Regions from separate parts of the Homo sapiens genome. Here regions 1, 2 and 3 are each linked to region 4. The links are contacts of gene promoters, found by promoter capture Hi-C in blood cells and fetal thymus (Javierre and others, 2016). All regions are on one chromosome and are shown on one strand. The core of a region is centred on a gene start or on the middle of the fragment in contact, and the rest is flanking DNA. Distances in the headings are between cores, read along the strand shown.

Region 1 (3,518 bases), core at 934-3,433, 280 kb after region 4:
GGCATTCTGGAATGATCTTGCCTTGTCTTCAAGTTGCGGTAAATAGATTCTTACAGTGTACATTAGAATACACGTCCACGTGTGTCAGCCACTTCTTCAGCATCTTGGCTCAGGTCCACTGCAACTTCTGCCTCCTGGGTTCAAGCAATTCTCCTGCCTCAGCCTCCTGAGTAGCTGGGATTCCAGGTGTGTGCCACCACACCCAGCTAATTTTTGTACTTTTAGTAGAGACAGGGTTTTACCATGTTGGTCAGGCTGGTCTCAAATCCTGACCTCAAATAATCCACCCGCCTCAGCCTCCCAAAGTGCTGGGATTATAGACGTGAGCCACTACACCCAGCCCCTTATGGATTTTTTAATCATCTTGTTTATGAGTTGTGAGAAAGGTATGATAATTCCTACTGTAACTGCAGATTTGTTTATTTTTCCTTTTAGTTCCATCACTTTTTGCTTTTTAGTTTGAAGCCATGTTATTAGGAGCAGACAGATTGAAGTTGGTTATATCTCCTTGTTGAATTGTCTTTTATCGTGTTAAATACTCCTTTTTATCATTGGAAATACTTTTCTCCTTAAAGTTGGCTTTGTAGCTAACTTAGTTCTGCTTTGGGTTTGTATTTGCACAGGATAGCTTGTTTCATCCCTTTTCTTTTGATTTCTCTAGTCCATTATATTCATGGTATGTCTCTTATAACAGCATGCAGTTGACTTTTGTCTTGTTCTTATTCAGTCTGTGAATGGGAGTATTTAAGACTATTTACAGTTAATATAATAACTGATTTTTGAGGGAAAACTTTCAACTTATGTCCTATTATTTGTCTCATATGTCCTTTTTCTGTTTTTGCTTTTACTTTCTTTGGATCAATCAAACATTTTAAATATTTACTCTTTTTTTGGCTTGTTGGTACATTTCTATTCTTCTAATGATTATACTAGGCAGTTGATATCAACCCTTATTTAAAACTCCACAAGACATTGTTATTGTTGTTTCAAATAGTAATTATTGAGCCAGGCATGGTGGCTCACTCCTGTAATCCCAGCACTTTGGGAGGCTGAGGCAGGAGAATCACTTGAACCCGGGAGGTGGAGGTTGCAGTGAGCCGAGATAGCACCACTGCACTCCAGCCTGGGCAACAGAGCAAAAGACTCCGTCTCAAAAAAAAAAGAAAAAAAAGAAGAAGAAAAAGAAAAAAGTATTGATATTGATTCTTTGTGGCTTCTTGTTTTTTTGTCCTGGGGTCTTGTTTTCTAGTGTGCCTGGTATTTTGCAGATGTTGTGTTTGAGAAATCGTAGAAGTTCTGGGTGACATTGTCATTCATCCATCATACAGGGGATAGGCAGAAGGCCTGTGTCCCATTGAGGCAAATGTGTTTTCAGTTGGCCTTGTTCCTAGGGTACAGCCCTTCTGGGGTCTCAGCTGGGCAGTGACACCCTCAAATGGTGAATCTTCTGCTTGGCGTTCATCTTCTGCTTGGCGTTCATCATCTTGCTGGCTCCTCTCTGCATAGCTGATAGCTGGCAAGTGCTTTGGGGGAGATTTTTGCACACAGAATGTGGAGTGGCGTCCTTCTCCGAGGTTTCCTTCTCTCCCTCGAGCTCTGGCTGCTGGAGCGCCCTCATTCTTGCTTCTCGGTGCCCAGCCCTGTGAGTGTGCCCAGGCTCTAGGCTGTTGTGCTCTCTTGTCTTGTCTGCTTAGTCCCAATGATCGATGAGTCTCCAAGGGCAACAGGCTTGACCTCTCTGTGACTAAGGGCTTTTCTCTGTCCTCTGGGATCTGGACCTCTCAAGTCTGAGCTGACAGAGCTGTTTACCAGTGTCTTTGGTTGGGTGTTTTTATTGTTTTTATTCAGCTTTTACCATTGTTTTAAATAGGAAGACCAGTTTGATACCAGCTATTATGCCATAGCTTGATGAGGAAGTTTCTTGGTGAGTTTTAGGAGCTTAAGATAGCATGAGAGCCTCAGCCTCTGCTCATCAGATGGCACATGTCCTGCTATGCCAGGTCCCATGTTTTAGTCCATTGGGCTTCCTTAGAAAAAACATCTGTTCTGTGAGTTAGCAGGAGAAAGAAGGAAAGAAAGAAGGGAGGGAGGGAGGAAGGAAGGAAGGAAAGAAAGAGTCATAGTTAGAATTTCCACACTCCAGTACTATTTTAAAAGAAGAAGGAGGGGGAGGGCCATAGTTAGAATTTCCCCACTCCAGTATTATTTTAAAATAATTCCTCCCTCATTTTTTTAGTACTTTAATGACTTCATTTTTTTAATTTAAATCTTTGATCTACCTGTATTTTATTTTGGTGTAAGAAACAAAGTATGTATCCTCAGTTTATTTCTAGATGGTTCCCTAGTCGTCAGACATGATTTATTGAATAATCCATCACTGATGGGAAATGTTAGTGCTATTGTAGATTAAATTCTTATATGTATTCGGGCCTAACTTGGGACCTGTGTTTTACTTTATTGGCTGGTCTGCCCTTCCGTACTGTGTTAGTTGCATGTTAGTTGCATGTTAGTTGCGTGTTAGTTGCCACACCCTGGTAACACTCACGGAGTTGTGACTTGTTGCTCTTGGAACACTTTAATTCTCATCTCGCCTCTTGGCTGTTAATAATACATTTTCTGCATAGTCTTTGTTTTATTTTCTGTATGAATGTTGGAATCAGCCCATCTGACTCTAACAAAAAATTAGTCCTGCTTTTTATTTTTTGGTCTAACTGGGCTTATTGAAACTATAGATTAACTTGGGAATTGCCGTCTTTACACTGTAGCTGATGTGCAGATGTCCTTGCGAACTCTCCTGCTCAGCAGGAAGGCACTGCATTTGGTTTATCCAGACCTCACTGTAGGTCCTTCGTTCCCATCTGTTTCCCAGGTGGCTGTTGGCTGCACTGCATGCTATCCTGGGATCTCTTTTCCCGCTGGATTTTCTTTTTTTTTCTTTTTCTTTTTTTTTTTTTTGAGATGGAGTCTCACTCTGTCGCCCAGGCTGGAGTGCAGTGGCACGATCTCTGCTCACTGCAAGCCCCTCCTCCTGGGTTCACGCCATTCTCCTGCCTCAGTCTCTTGAATAGCTGGGACTACAGGTGCCTGCAACCATGCCCGGCTAATTTTTTGTATTTTTAGTAGAGACGGGGTTTCACTATGTTAGCCAGGATGGTCTCGATCTCCTGACCTCATGATCCGCCCGCCTCGGCCTCCCAAAGTGCTGGGATTACAGGCGTGAGCCACCGCGTCCGGCCCTCCCCCTGGATTTTCTAAGTGGCTGTTTGTGTAAAGGGAAGTTAGAGATTTCATAGGTGACATTTTCGCCCGTTCACCTTACTGTACTCCTGCTGGATCTCTTGGCTTTTCACCTGCAGCTAATGATGATGTCGCCTCCCTCTTTCCAATTGCTGCAGCGCTTCCTCCTCTCTTGCCCGTGTGTGGCGTCACACACCTGTGGCCACGGCGCTGCTGGTGTGAGTGGCTGGCGCGTCACTGACTCTGGGATGGCTTCTAGTGTTTACCCGTTAGCCCAGTGT
Region 2 (2,755 bases), core at 1-2,500, 310 kb after region 4:
CCTCTGGGGGCTCAGTTCCAGAGCAGGGATAGCGCTGTCCCGTCGCCGGTGTGTACTTCTGCGCGGGAACAGACTTGCGCAGCACGCTGGCCCAGGGACGGATTGAGCGGAGCTGAGCCCTCAAAGAACTTTGGGTATCTCCTGAGAGCCAAGGCATTTGCTGTGGTTTGATGTGTCCCCTCCAAAATTCAGGAGTTGCCTAAGTGACAGTATCAAGAGGTGACTAGGCCGAGGGCTCCTTCCTCGCTCGTACGATTAAGAGCCTTATAAAAGAGGCTGCACCTCCGCCTTCTGCAGTGTGAGGACACGGCACAAAGGCCCTCCCCAGACACCAGTACCAATGCCTGGATCTCGGGCTTCGCAGCCTGCAGAGCTGTGAAAAATCAGGCCGTTCTTTGTAAATCACCCAGTCTCAGGTGCTTTGTTAGGGCAGCAGGGACGGCCCAAGGGCACCTGAAGCAGTTAGAGCTCCACACTGTCCCTGCGGTGCGAAAACAGCAGAACCCCCACAACCTCCCCTCCCCCTCCCCCCCGCCTCCCCCCCCCCCACCCGCCCAGCTTCCTGAGCTGTCAATCGATGTGGTGCTGAAATCCAGTCACTCAGGGAGGAAGGGCAGAGCAAAGGTGGGAGGTTTGCAAGGAAATTTGGGGTGGCAGAAAAGAGGGTGTACCCCGGAGGCCTGAGAGCTGAGTTTGGAGGTGTGGGCCACGCTGGGCCACAGGAAGTGGCAGGTCTGTCACCACCTCACACACAGGGTGAAGGACAGCGAGGGGGAGTGCTGGCAAGACAGGTCTGTGGGTGGGATGGGAGGCTGGATTTGGAGGGAGAAGATGCAGGAAGCTCTGCCAATGAGCTGCCAGAGAACGGAGAGGGCGTGACAGGGCTAAGAAAAGGACGTCTGCACACTGAGGCTCGCTCATGGATGAGTGCTGGGCACAAGAAGGAGGAAGGCAGGGGTGGGGGGCAGCCGGCCCTGCACGCTGGGGAGGCGGGTCGGGTGGTTTGTGCCAGCGCAGGGCATCTGAGTCTGGCATGCACAGGGATGGACTGCGGTGGCTTGACCCCAGGAGTCTGGTCTGGATTTCCGTGGTTCCCAAGATGTGACACTATCCTGGCCCTTGGGACAAAATCCAGCACTCTGGCCTGGCTCCTGCAGACCCACCACCCAGATCAGACCCTTAGGGGAAACCAGGTTAATTCTGGGGCAGCATCTGGAGGAGGAAACATGGAGGAACAGACCTCAGCCCACGGGGTCAGCCGCTAGCACGGGCCTGGGGGCAGGCGCAGGCTGCAGCCCCAGGAAAGTGCAGCCTCTGCACCCCGGAGCAGGGGGGCTCTCAAAGCAGTCCCCGCCACGCCCTGCAGGTGGCGCTCAGGCCCCATGGACTCCGGGGTCTCACCATCAACAAGTGCCCGGGCAGAGTCAGGATGTGGCCCTTCTCACCTTAGTTTTAGGTCAAGTGATGTGATAGGGAGGGGGAACGAGAGGGCAGGCGCCATCGGTGAAGTACCTGGGCTGCCGAGGGGGCGACCAACCCCACACAGGAGGGGCACTGGCTGCTGGTGCTCTACGCAGGCCCCTCTCGGAGACTCAGGCCCTTTTGTGAAGAGCCTCCGCCCTGCCCCGTGTCCAGGAAAGCCACCTGCGAGGACCCTGCCCCATGGAGTGTCCCCTCGTGGTGCTGACGTCCTTGTCTTTGGTGTGTGCTGTATACCCACAGCAAGGTCTGCAGGCTTCACCAGATTCACATTAAATACCTTAGTGAGAGTGTTTTAAAACGGGGACCTTGAGGCAGGGTGTCCCCAAGTCCCAGCCCTGCCAGCTTTGGGGGAAAGGCTCTGGGCCCCATTCCATCTCAGAGAGGCCAAGACCCACATGTTGCAGTCTGCACACAGTAAGCCCCAGGCTGCAGGATTTGACCGAGTCTTTATCGTGGCTTCCGTTACATCTTATTCTAACTCAGGTTTACGGACACAATGCTGGAAAACCAATTCCTGCTCTACCCACGCCTCAACTTGTTAAGAAAAAACAGGATCTAACACCGAGGAATGTCACATCTTCGCCATTCCCACTTCCTTTCTGCCCTAGGCATTCGATATGTGCCACCAGGGGCCATCAGGACTAGGGCTCTGCACCCATGGCAGCAGACAGGTGTGAAGCTCAGAGTCCCTCCTAACAGCCTCCCTCCAGCGTCTTCTTGGCCTGCAAGATAAAGTGTTTTGTCTGAATGGCTTGCTTCCAAGTTAGATACGCCTCAAAAGCAAGCTACCACACCACACGTTGTGTTCTACCAAATACCTTACAGAGAACTTGGGTGCTGGCATATGGTGGGGGCTCGACTGGTTGGAGCCTGGGGCCCCATGGGCAGGTTCTCTGGGTCACTTGTCCACGGGACAAGGGCCTCATGACACTATCACAGAACTCACTGCTGCCCCCTCCTCTGAGCCCCCACGAGATGCCACATTTGGTCTCAAGCTCTCATAGAGGGAAAGCAGGAGCCCCCCCCCTTTTTTTTTTTTTGAGATGCAGTCTCACTTTGTTGCCTAGGCTGGAGTACAGCAGCGTGATCTCGGCTCACTGCAACCTCCACCTCCCAGGTTCAAGTGATCTTCCCACCTCAGCCTCCCAAGTAACTGGGACTACACCACCATGCCTGGCTAATTTTTTTTTTCTTTTTTTTTGTAGAGACGGGGTCTCCATATGTTGCCCAGGCTGGTCTCAAACTTCTAGGCCTAAGCAATCCACCCACCTCA
Region 3 (3,573 bases), core at 512-3,011, 330 kb after region 4:
GCCTGTAATACCAGCTACTCGGGAGGCTGAGGCAGGAGAATTGCTTGAGCCCAGGAAGTGGAGTTTGCAGTGAGCCAAGATCATGCCATTGCACTCCAGCCTGGGCGACAGAGGGAGACTCCATCTCGGAAAAAAAAGGAAAAAAAAGAAAAAGAAAATAGCTTGGCGGTTTCCTTTTTTTTTTCTTTTTCTTTTTTTTGAGATGGAGTCTTGCTCTGTCGCTCAGGCTGGAGTGCAGTGGTGATCTCCGCTCACCGCAATCTCTGCCTCCTGGGGTCAAGCGATTCTCCTGACTCAGCCTCCTGAGTAGCTGGGATTATAGGCAGACGCCACCAGGCACGGGTAATTTTTTTGTATTTTTACTAGAGACGGGGTTTTGCCATGTTGGCCAGGGTGATCTCGAACTCCTGACCTCAGGTGATCCGCCCACCTCAGTGTCCCAAAGTTCTGGAATTACAGGTGGGACCCACTGCGCCCGGCCGGCAGTTTCTTATAAACAATCATTTGATCCAGCAACCCCACTCCTGGGTATTTACACAAGAGAAATGAAAAGTTGTGTCCACACAGAAGCCGATGAGTGAATGTTTATGGCAGCGTCATTCATAATTGCCAAGCACCAGGAACAATCTCTGCGTCCTTCATTTGATGAATAAAACCATCAATAAATAAAACCATCTGAACCGGTGGTTCACACCGGTTACAGGATACCACTCAGCAATAAAGAGGAACCAGCATGAATCTCAAAATGCGAAGTGGTAGAAGCCAGACCCACAGGCGCGCTGCGCGACATCCCTTTTGTGTGACATTCTGGAAAAGGCTGCCTCTAGGGATGGAGAACAGAGAGAACTGAGCAGCCGCCACCAGCAGTCAGCAGGTACGGGATCCGGAGGGAGAATGTTCTGTAACTAAAGTTACACAACTCCACTGCACACCAAAAAATGTGGATTTTACTGAAACCAAACTTTTTATTTTACAGAGCACTGGACTTTTTAAAAAGCGGGGGCAGGGGAGACCAGTGTGCTGTGACTTTTAGGGGAAGGATGGCTTCCCTGGAGAGGACCTGGGCGGAATCCCCAGGGCTCCCGGAGAGAGGGGGAGTCACAGAGCGGCTACGCACGGGGCGCAGCGTTAAAACTTTGGAGAAGGAAAAAAAACAACAAAGCAGCGCGAAGGGAAGGAGGTCAGGGAGGTTAGCAAGGCGCCCACACGCCCTCGCAGTCGTACTGAGTAACGAGGGGAGTCGCGCACGTGGGTGGGGACAGAGCGGCCTAGGACACTGGGGGAGCCCCGGGCCGCGGGAGTGCGGCGGCCTGGGGGTGTCGGGGAGCCGAGCCGAGGCCGCGTGCTCCTCGCGCCCTCCCTGGTGTCTCCTCCCCAGGCCCTGCGTGCCCCGCCCACACCTGCCTTGCCCCGCCCACATCTGCCTCGCCCTACTCGCCCATCACACCCCCACCTCACGCCCCGCCCACAACCGCTGGGGCCCCGCCCCTGCCCGGCCAGCTCCTCCCGCCGCCCTCGGTCCCCCGCCCCCTATATGACCCGCCCCTTTCCAGCCGCGTCCAATCGGCCGCTCTCTGTAGTCGCGTCCCTCAGCCATCCGCCGCTCCTCCCACGCTTGAACTTCCCGAAGGACAGCCGAGCGGCCCAATGAGCTCCCGGGACGGCCTGAGCGGGAGCGTGAAGGGCCAATCCGGAGTCGGCGCGCGCAGGAAAGGCGGGCCGGCGTGACGGGCTGGGGAGGTGGTGCCAGGCTGGTTGCTAGCTGCCGCCGCTGCTCACCCCGGCCGTCCGGCCGCTTCATTGTCACCGGGCCTCGGGGCAGTGTTGGGGGTGGCGGGGCGCCAGGTCGCCGACCCGAGGTTTGGGCGCGACTGGTTCCGCATCCCCTCCCCGCCGGCCGAATCTGCAGGCCCCGCGCGCCAGGCAGGCTTCGCGGCTGCGCCCCCGGCCCGCGCAGGTGAGGGGGGCCCGGGCAAGGGAGGGGGTTGCAGGGCGCACGGAGGTTGGAGGGGTCCGGAGCCCGCGCAGGTGGGAGGCCCTGGTCCAGTGATGAAGTGATGGGGATCCGGGGCACGCACAGGTGAGTGGGGGGATCTGGTGCCCGCGCAATTGAAGGCGGGATCCGGGGGAAGTGAGGGGGATCCAGGGTGCGCACAGGTGAGGGAGGTCCGGGGCCCGCGCAGGTGAAGACAGGCTCGTGCCTGAGGGTGTGGGTCCCCACCTCCATCCCCTCCACCCTCTCCACCTCCCTCCACTCCCCTCCGGTCCCCAGGACAACATGGAGTCCAGTCCCGGCATCTCTGGCCCGGCTGCCTTAAGCCCTGGGGAAAATGGGGAGATGGGAGCTGCCCTGAGGACAAGTGGAGGGCTCTGCTCTGCGCGTGGGCTCTGGCCTCTCTGTCCAGGGTCAGGGTCAGGGTCAGGGTCAGCCCACCCTGGGAACCAGGTCCTGGCGCTGGTCATCAGTCCCCGCCCCTTCAGGTCCTGGGAGGGACACAGTTTTATCCAAGATGTAGTGGCCTCCCAGGCCTCCCTTCTTCTGGCTTGGAGGTTTCCATGGAGAGGCCCCGTTCGCCATCCCAGAGCCGCTTGCAAGTGTGGCTGGGAGAGCAGAGTCCTGGGCTCCAAGGGCTTGCATGGGTCCAGCCAGGGGTGGACAGTGCCCTGCAGGAGGAGGGTGTTAAGTTTCTTCCGCACAGCCGGAAGTGCATAACTGAGGACTGGGACCTGGTCAGTGGCAGGGTCAGCCTCTAGGGAGTAGGGGTATCCATCGCTCCGTGGAAGGGACCTTGGGGGACCTGCTGTGGGGTGCCGGGCTGAAGGAAGCCCAGGGTGACCTTGGGCGATAGGCTGGGTGCCTGCTGGCCTACTGGAGGCCACCGTGGCAGGGAGGTAATTCTCGAGGTTGGTCCCTGGCGCCAGCTTCTCCCGTTCATCTACGGGTTCAGCTGAGTGCCTTTCCCTGCAGGTGCTGGGGTTGCTCAGGAGCCACACAATTCATAAACCAACTGTGTGCGGCCACAGGAAGGGAGTCCGAGCCGGATGGGGAGTGAAGAGTGATGGGTGCTCAAGGAAGGCCTCTGAGTGCAGGGAGGGAGTGTCCTGAGACCTAGAGGCAGGGGACTGGCCGGGGCCAAGCTGGCTGAGTTTGAGGAGAACCAGGGAGGCTGTGTTGGCTAAAGCCACAACAAAGGGGCACAGCAGGGGAGCTGGCGAGGTCACAGAGAGTACAGGGCCAGATCTTGCAGGAGTTGGATGTGTAGACTTTATTCTCTGTGCCTAGGAAGCTGTTGCAGGGTTTTTGGCAGGGGCACATGCACGAGCTGAGACCCGTTCAGAAAGATCAGAAAGACTCGTTCAGAAAGAGGTGCCATGTGGGGACGGGCTGGGGGCCGGCAGGGTTTGCTCTGAGAAGTTCCAAAGTAAGGAAGCCAGCATCCCCAAGCTAATCCCCTCGATCGATCGTCAGAACCCCCGTCCCCTGCTGGAATAACACATTACCCAGGGAGTGTTTGCCCGGTGCAGCCTTGAGGCCTTGAGACCAGCATCTTGTCTGGACCTCACAAAACCACT
Region 4 (3,419 bases), core at 831-3,330:
CTGTGTGTGTCAAAAAAAAAAAAAGGGAGAAGTCGGGTTCCTGGGTCCCTGCCTCACCTTCCTGCTGTGTTCTCCTTATTGGGCTGTGCTGCTCTGAGGAGAGGTCCCTCAAGGCCCAGCCCTCCTCGCCCTCAACACAGCCTGAAGCTTCATGGTTTTTCTCCCCTCAGTCTGACCTAAATTGACTCCTTCATATACTTCGTGCTTAGGGAGATGATAACACCTCCAAGTTGGGCATAGAAACGCAGTGTCCAGCGGTCTGCGCTGCTGTCTCGAAGGCTTCCGCTAGGAGTGTGTGCATCTTCCACACCCACGGACAGAGAGGCTGCCTCAGCCCTCATCACTCTTCGCCAAGTACAGGTGGGGCACGGCACAGCCCAGCAGCTGATGGAGAGCCGGCCTTCAGCCCTTCGCTTGTGTCTAACTCACCCCCTTTCCCCTGGGATCCATGCTTAAGGTCCCCCACATGACTACTGATCATAAATCTTGTTGCAGATAGGAGCTGGGCTTGGCGTGGGGCCAAAAGCCTGCCAGCCCCCGGAGCAGAGTGGGGTGGGCAGCGGAGTAAACCGCGGGGTGAGGCTGCTGGTTTGGCGGGCCTTCTCCCACGTCCGTTTCCTCCTCCACGTGATCGTGATCATTTCCTCTAGGACAGTCTTGGCATGTTACCATCCGTATGGAAGAGATGGCCTGGGAGGACTGGATGGGGTTGGTGTGTGTGAGCGAGTGACTCACAAGGCTTCAGAGGGTTAAAACTAGCAGTCAGAAGACCTGCGGATTCCTGTGGGGAAATTCGGTCAGAAGACCAGCGGAGGATCCCTGTGGGGAAATTCACAACGATGCGGCATCTGACTTCCTGACTCTGAAGGCCAAATGAGATGCACCTGGCCCTCCTCTCCCCACTCCCCAGCATCAAAGACAGCATTTCCAGCCCAAACACCTTCAGAGCAGCCCTGGCGAGAAGAGAGGAGCAAGGAACTGACTCCAGGTGCCGCACTTGAGTCTGTCTAACCCAACATTCAGAATCAGACATCCCCGTTGCCTTGGGGTCAGTCCCCACCCCAACCTCAAAGGGGGGCGGTCAGGATGTCTGCAAGTGGTGCTTTGTGCTCCAGCAGGTGCACCCGGACTCCACGATGTCTGCCTAACTTCCAAGCCCAGTTTTGCAGCCCTGCCCCTAGATTCTCCCTCGAGGGTGTCTGGCCTTAGCGCTCTTCAGATTGGCTTCTTAAACGGAGGGAGGCGGGCCGGGGGCGGGGTTCCTTGGTCATTTACTTGTGAATGGTGTGCCTGGTTTCCGCTCTCTTCCGGGCATGGAGCAGGTGTCCGTACTGCAGGCCCCTCCACGGGCGTTCTCTGGTCAGTACTTCTCTCCTGGAGGAAGTGGAGAGCTGCCAGGAGGGAGAGGGTGGAGGTATCTTGCCCTGGCTCACAGTCATTTTCTTGTCCTCTGCCCCCAACCCAGAAACCCCATTGGTGTACTCCCTGTCCCCACGTGTTCAGCCACGGAGGGAGGGACGCACTTCCACCTAAGCTGGCTCACTCCGCTGGGCCCTGAACGCGGGGGCGGCCGGGGCGGCTCGCAGAGCACAGGGCAGAGACCCATCCCTAGGACGACAAGAGCCGGCGCTGCCCCACCCCGACCCCGGCTGGAGTGCGCTCCGGCAGGACCCAGCTGCTCTCCGAGAGCCCAGAGAATCGAGGCGTTTACGCAAAAGCCCGAGTAGCTGAGCGCTTGCTCCGGGGAGACGCCCCGCCCAAGAGCAACCTCTGCTCGGCCAGGACCCGCTTCCCCACCCTGGGGAACCCGTGCAGCAGCCGGGGCCATGAAGCCGCCGAGGGCTCCCACCAGCCCGGCCGGGTCAACCTCGACCTGCGGCACGGTGCCGCGGCCCCTAGGAAGGCTCCCCTGCTCCCCGTGGGTACCAGCGACCGCCCCAGCTCCCGGAGTCCCTGCAGCGCGTCCTTTCCGGCCCGCCCCCGGCACCGCCGACCGCTTTACGGCGGAGGTCGCGCCGCACAGCGGGCTGCCGTAAAGCGCTCCGAGGCGGAGCCGCCGCCGCGCGGCCGGGGCTTCTCACTCTGACGGGCCCGCGCGCACGATGGCCGGCGCCGCGCCGCGGGTCCGCTACCTGGCGGGCTTCTGCTGCCCTCTCGGGGGCCTGGCGGCGGGCAAGCCCCGCGTGCTGTGCCATGAGGCAGAGGTCTTCCTGTCCACCGGGAGCGAGCTCGTCTACGTGTACGACCAGGAGGGCGGGCTGCTGACCGTGAGCGCCGGCCCGCGGGGGCGGGAGGGACCGGGCGGGGGCGGCGGTTCGCGTGAAAATGAAGACCGCGGGCCCGCGCGTCGCGTCGGCCTGACCCGCGCCCCGGTCCGCAGGCGGCGTTCCGGTTCCCCGACCAGGTGTGGCACCTGGAGCTGCTGGCGCCGCGCAGGTTGCTGTACGCGCTGTGCGCCCGGAGGGGCCTCTACTGCCTGTCGCTGGACCACCCGGGCAGGAGCAGGTGAGGGCGGGCCCGCGGCCTCCCTCCCGCACACTCCTGCTGCCCCCGGACTGCTTCAGAGCGAGCAGCCCCACCTCATCGCGCTTGGGGACCCGGGCTGCCGCCAGCTCTGAAGCCTCGGCCGCCATCCCTGCCCGATTATCTGGAGCCCCTGCCCCCAGCACTCTTTCTGCAAGTGTCTTGCTCACAGTCCTTAGTAAGTGGGGTTCACATGGTTAAGCCCACGGCGGGGCGCGGGATCCTGTCCTTTGGGCCCTGGTGGCCCGGTGCTGTCTGGTGAGACACGCCCCCGAGGTTGGGTCTTTATTGGAGGGAGGAGACAGCAAAGGCACCGTGACCCCGAGTCAGTGATCAGTGGACACCATCTGGGTTGGAAGGAAGCGAGCTCCGGGCAGCCAGGCCTGTCTTCAGTGCAGAGCCAGCAGCTGCTGACCGCGGCCCAGGCTGTAGAGGGGGCAGCCTGTGCACTTTGCAGCCTGGGCCTCAGCCTGACGGTTCTATGCTGACAGGTGTCGGTTCACGCTGGTTTTGGATGCCTGGTACTTCTTGTCAAGAGTATCCTTCGTGGGGAAGGTGGGAGGCCATGTGGCAGATGGACTGCTGAGCGGCCTTGGGGGTCACTGCGGGAACCCCTGAGCCAGACTACTCCATGCCAGGTTATTGTGAAGAGAACGTGGGAATCCCACCCTGCCCAGGCCTGACCAGTGCGTCCCTGTTCTCAAAGGTCTACGAGCCAGGATGACAGGGACAGCGAGGACGGTGACCAGCCTTCCCCCGTGATCCCTGTGGACCCCGATGCCTGCATCCTTCCCGATGCTGCGCTGTGCGCGTTCACCTTGCTGGACAGTGTGCTGGTCACCCTGGTGCAGGGCCCTGCCCGATGGAAGATGCAGCTGTTTGAGCAGCCCTGTCCT

The links. The method cuts DNA at HindIII sites, captures the fragments that hold promoters and counts their contacts. A CHiCAGO score of 5 or more calls a contact.
Region 1: a contact is called between a fragment that was not itself captured here and the fragment with the promoter of FAAP100 in region 4, in 1 of 17 cell types (monocytes). The highest score is 5.9, in monocytes.
Region 2: a fragment that was not itself captured here is called in contact with the fragment with the promoter of FAAP100 in region 4 in 1 of 17 cell types (fetal thymus); the score reaches 5.4 in fetal thymus.
Region 3: a contact is called between the fragment with the promoter of CEP131 here and the fragment with the promoter of FAAP100 in region 4, in 9 of 17 cell types (monocytes, activated CD4 T cells, naive CD8 T cells and 6 more). The highest score is 8.2, in monocytes.

What each region holds. Positions count from the first base shown.
Region 1 is chr17:81,266,056-81,269,573 of GRCh38, reverse strand. The region is part of intron 10 of SLC38A10 (solute carrier family 38 member 10); the gene reads left to right. Among named protein-coding and RNA genes, the nearest start is that of SLC38A10, 27 kb to the left of the region's middle. The HindIII fragment of the contact is 8,831 bases long and covers 1-3,518 here.
Region 2 is chr17:81,240,436-81,243,190 of GRCh38, reverse strand. It overlaps NDUFAF8 (NADH:ubiquinone oxidoreductase complex assembly factor 8), which reads right to left. Exons shown (of 3, transcript NM_001086521.2): 3 at 1,881-2,204. The coding sequence ends at 2,175. Among named protein-coding and RNA genes, the nearest start is that of NDUFAF8, 2.5 kb to the right of the region's middle. RefSeq lists a silencer at 468-762. The HindIII fragment of the contact is 3,989 bases long and covers 1-2,755 here.
Region 3 is chr17:81,221,153-81,224,725 of GRCh38, reverse strand. It overlaps CEP131 (centrosomal protein 131), which reads left to right and starts at 1,761. Exons shown (of 26, transcript NM_014984.4): 1 at 1,761-1,957. RefSeq lists silencers at 1,169-1,538, 1,699-2,028 and enhancers at 1,390-2,059, 2,060-2,729, 2,730-3,400. The HindIII fragment of the contact is 19,797 bases long and covers 1-3,573 here.
Region 4 is chr17:81,551,014-81,554,432 of GRCh38, reverse strand. FAAP100 (FA core complex associated protein 100) reads left to right here and starts at 2,080. Exons shown (of 9, transcript NM_025161.6): 1 at 2,080-2,267; 2 at 2,381-2,505; 3 at 3,230-3,419. The coding sequence starts at 2,103. It overlaps LOC124904085 (a long non-coding RNA gene), which reads right to left and starts at 2,074. Exons shown (of 2, transcript XR_007065947.1): 1 at 1,927-2,074; 2 at 1-1,391. RefSeq lists enhancers at 449-1,024, 1,554-1,673 and silencers at 1,074-1,143, 1,154-1,233, 1,814-1,973, 2,114-2,353, 2,414-2,513. The HindIII fragment of the contact is 8,658 bases long and covers 150-3,419 here.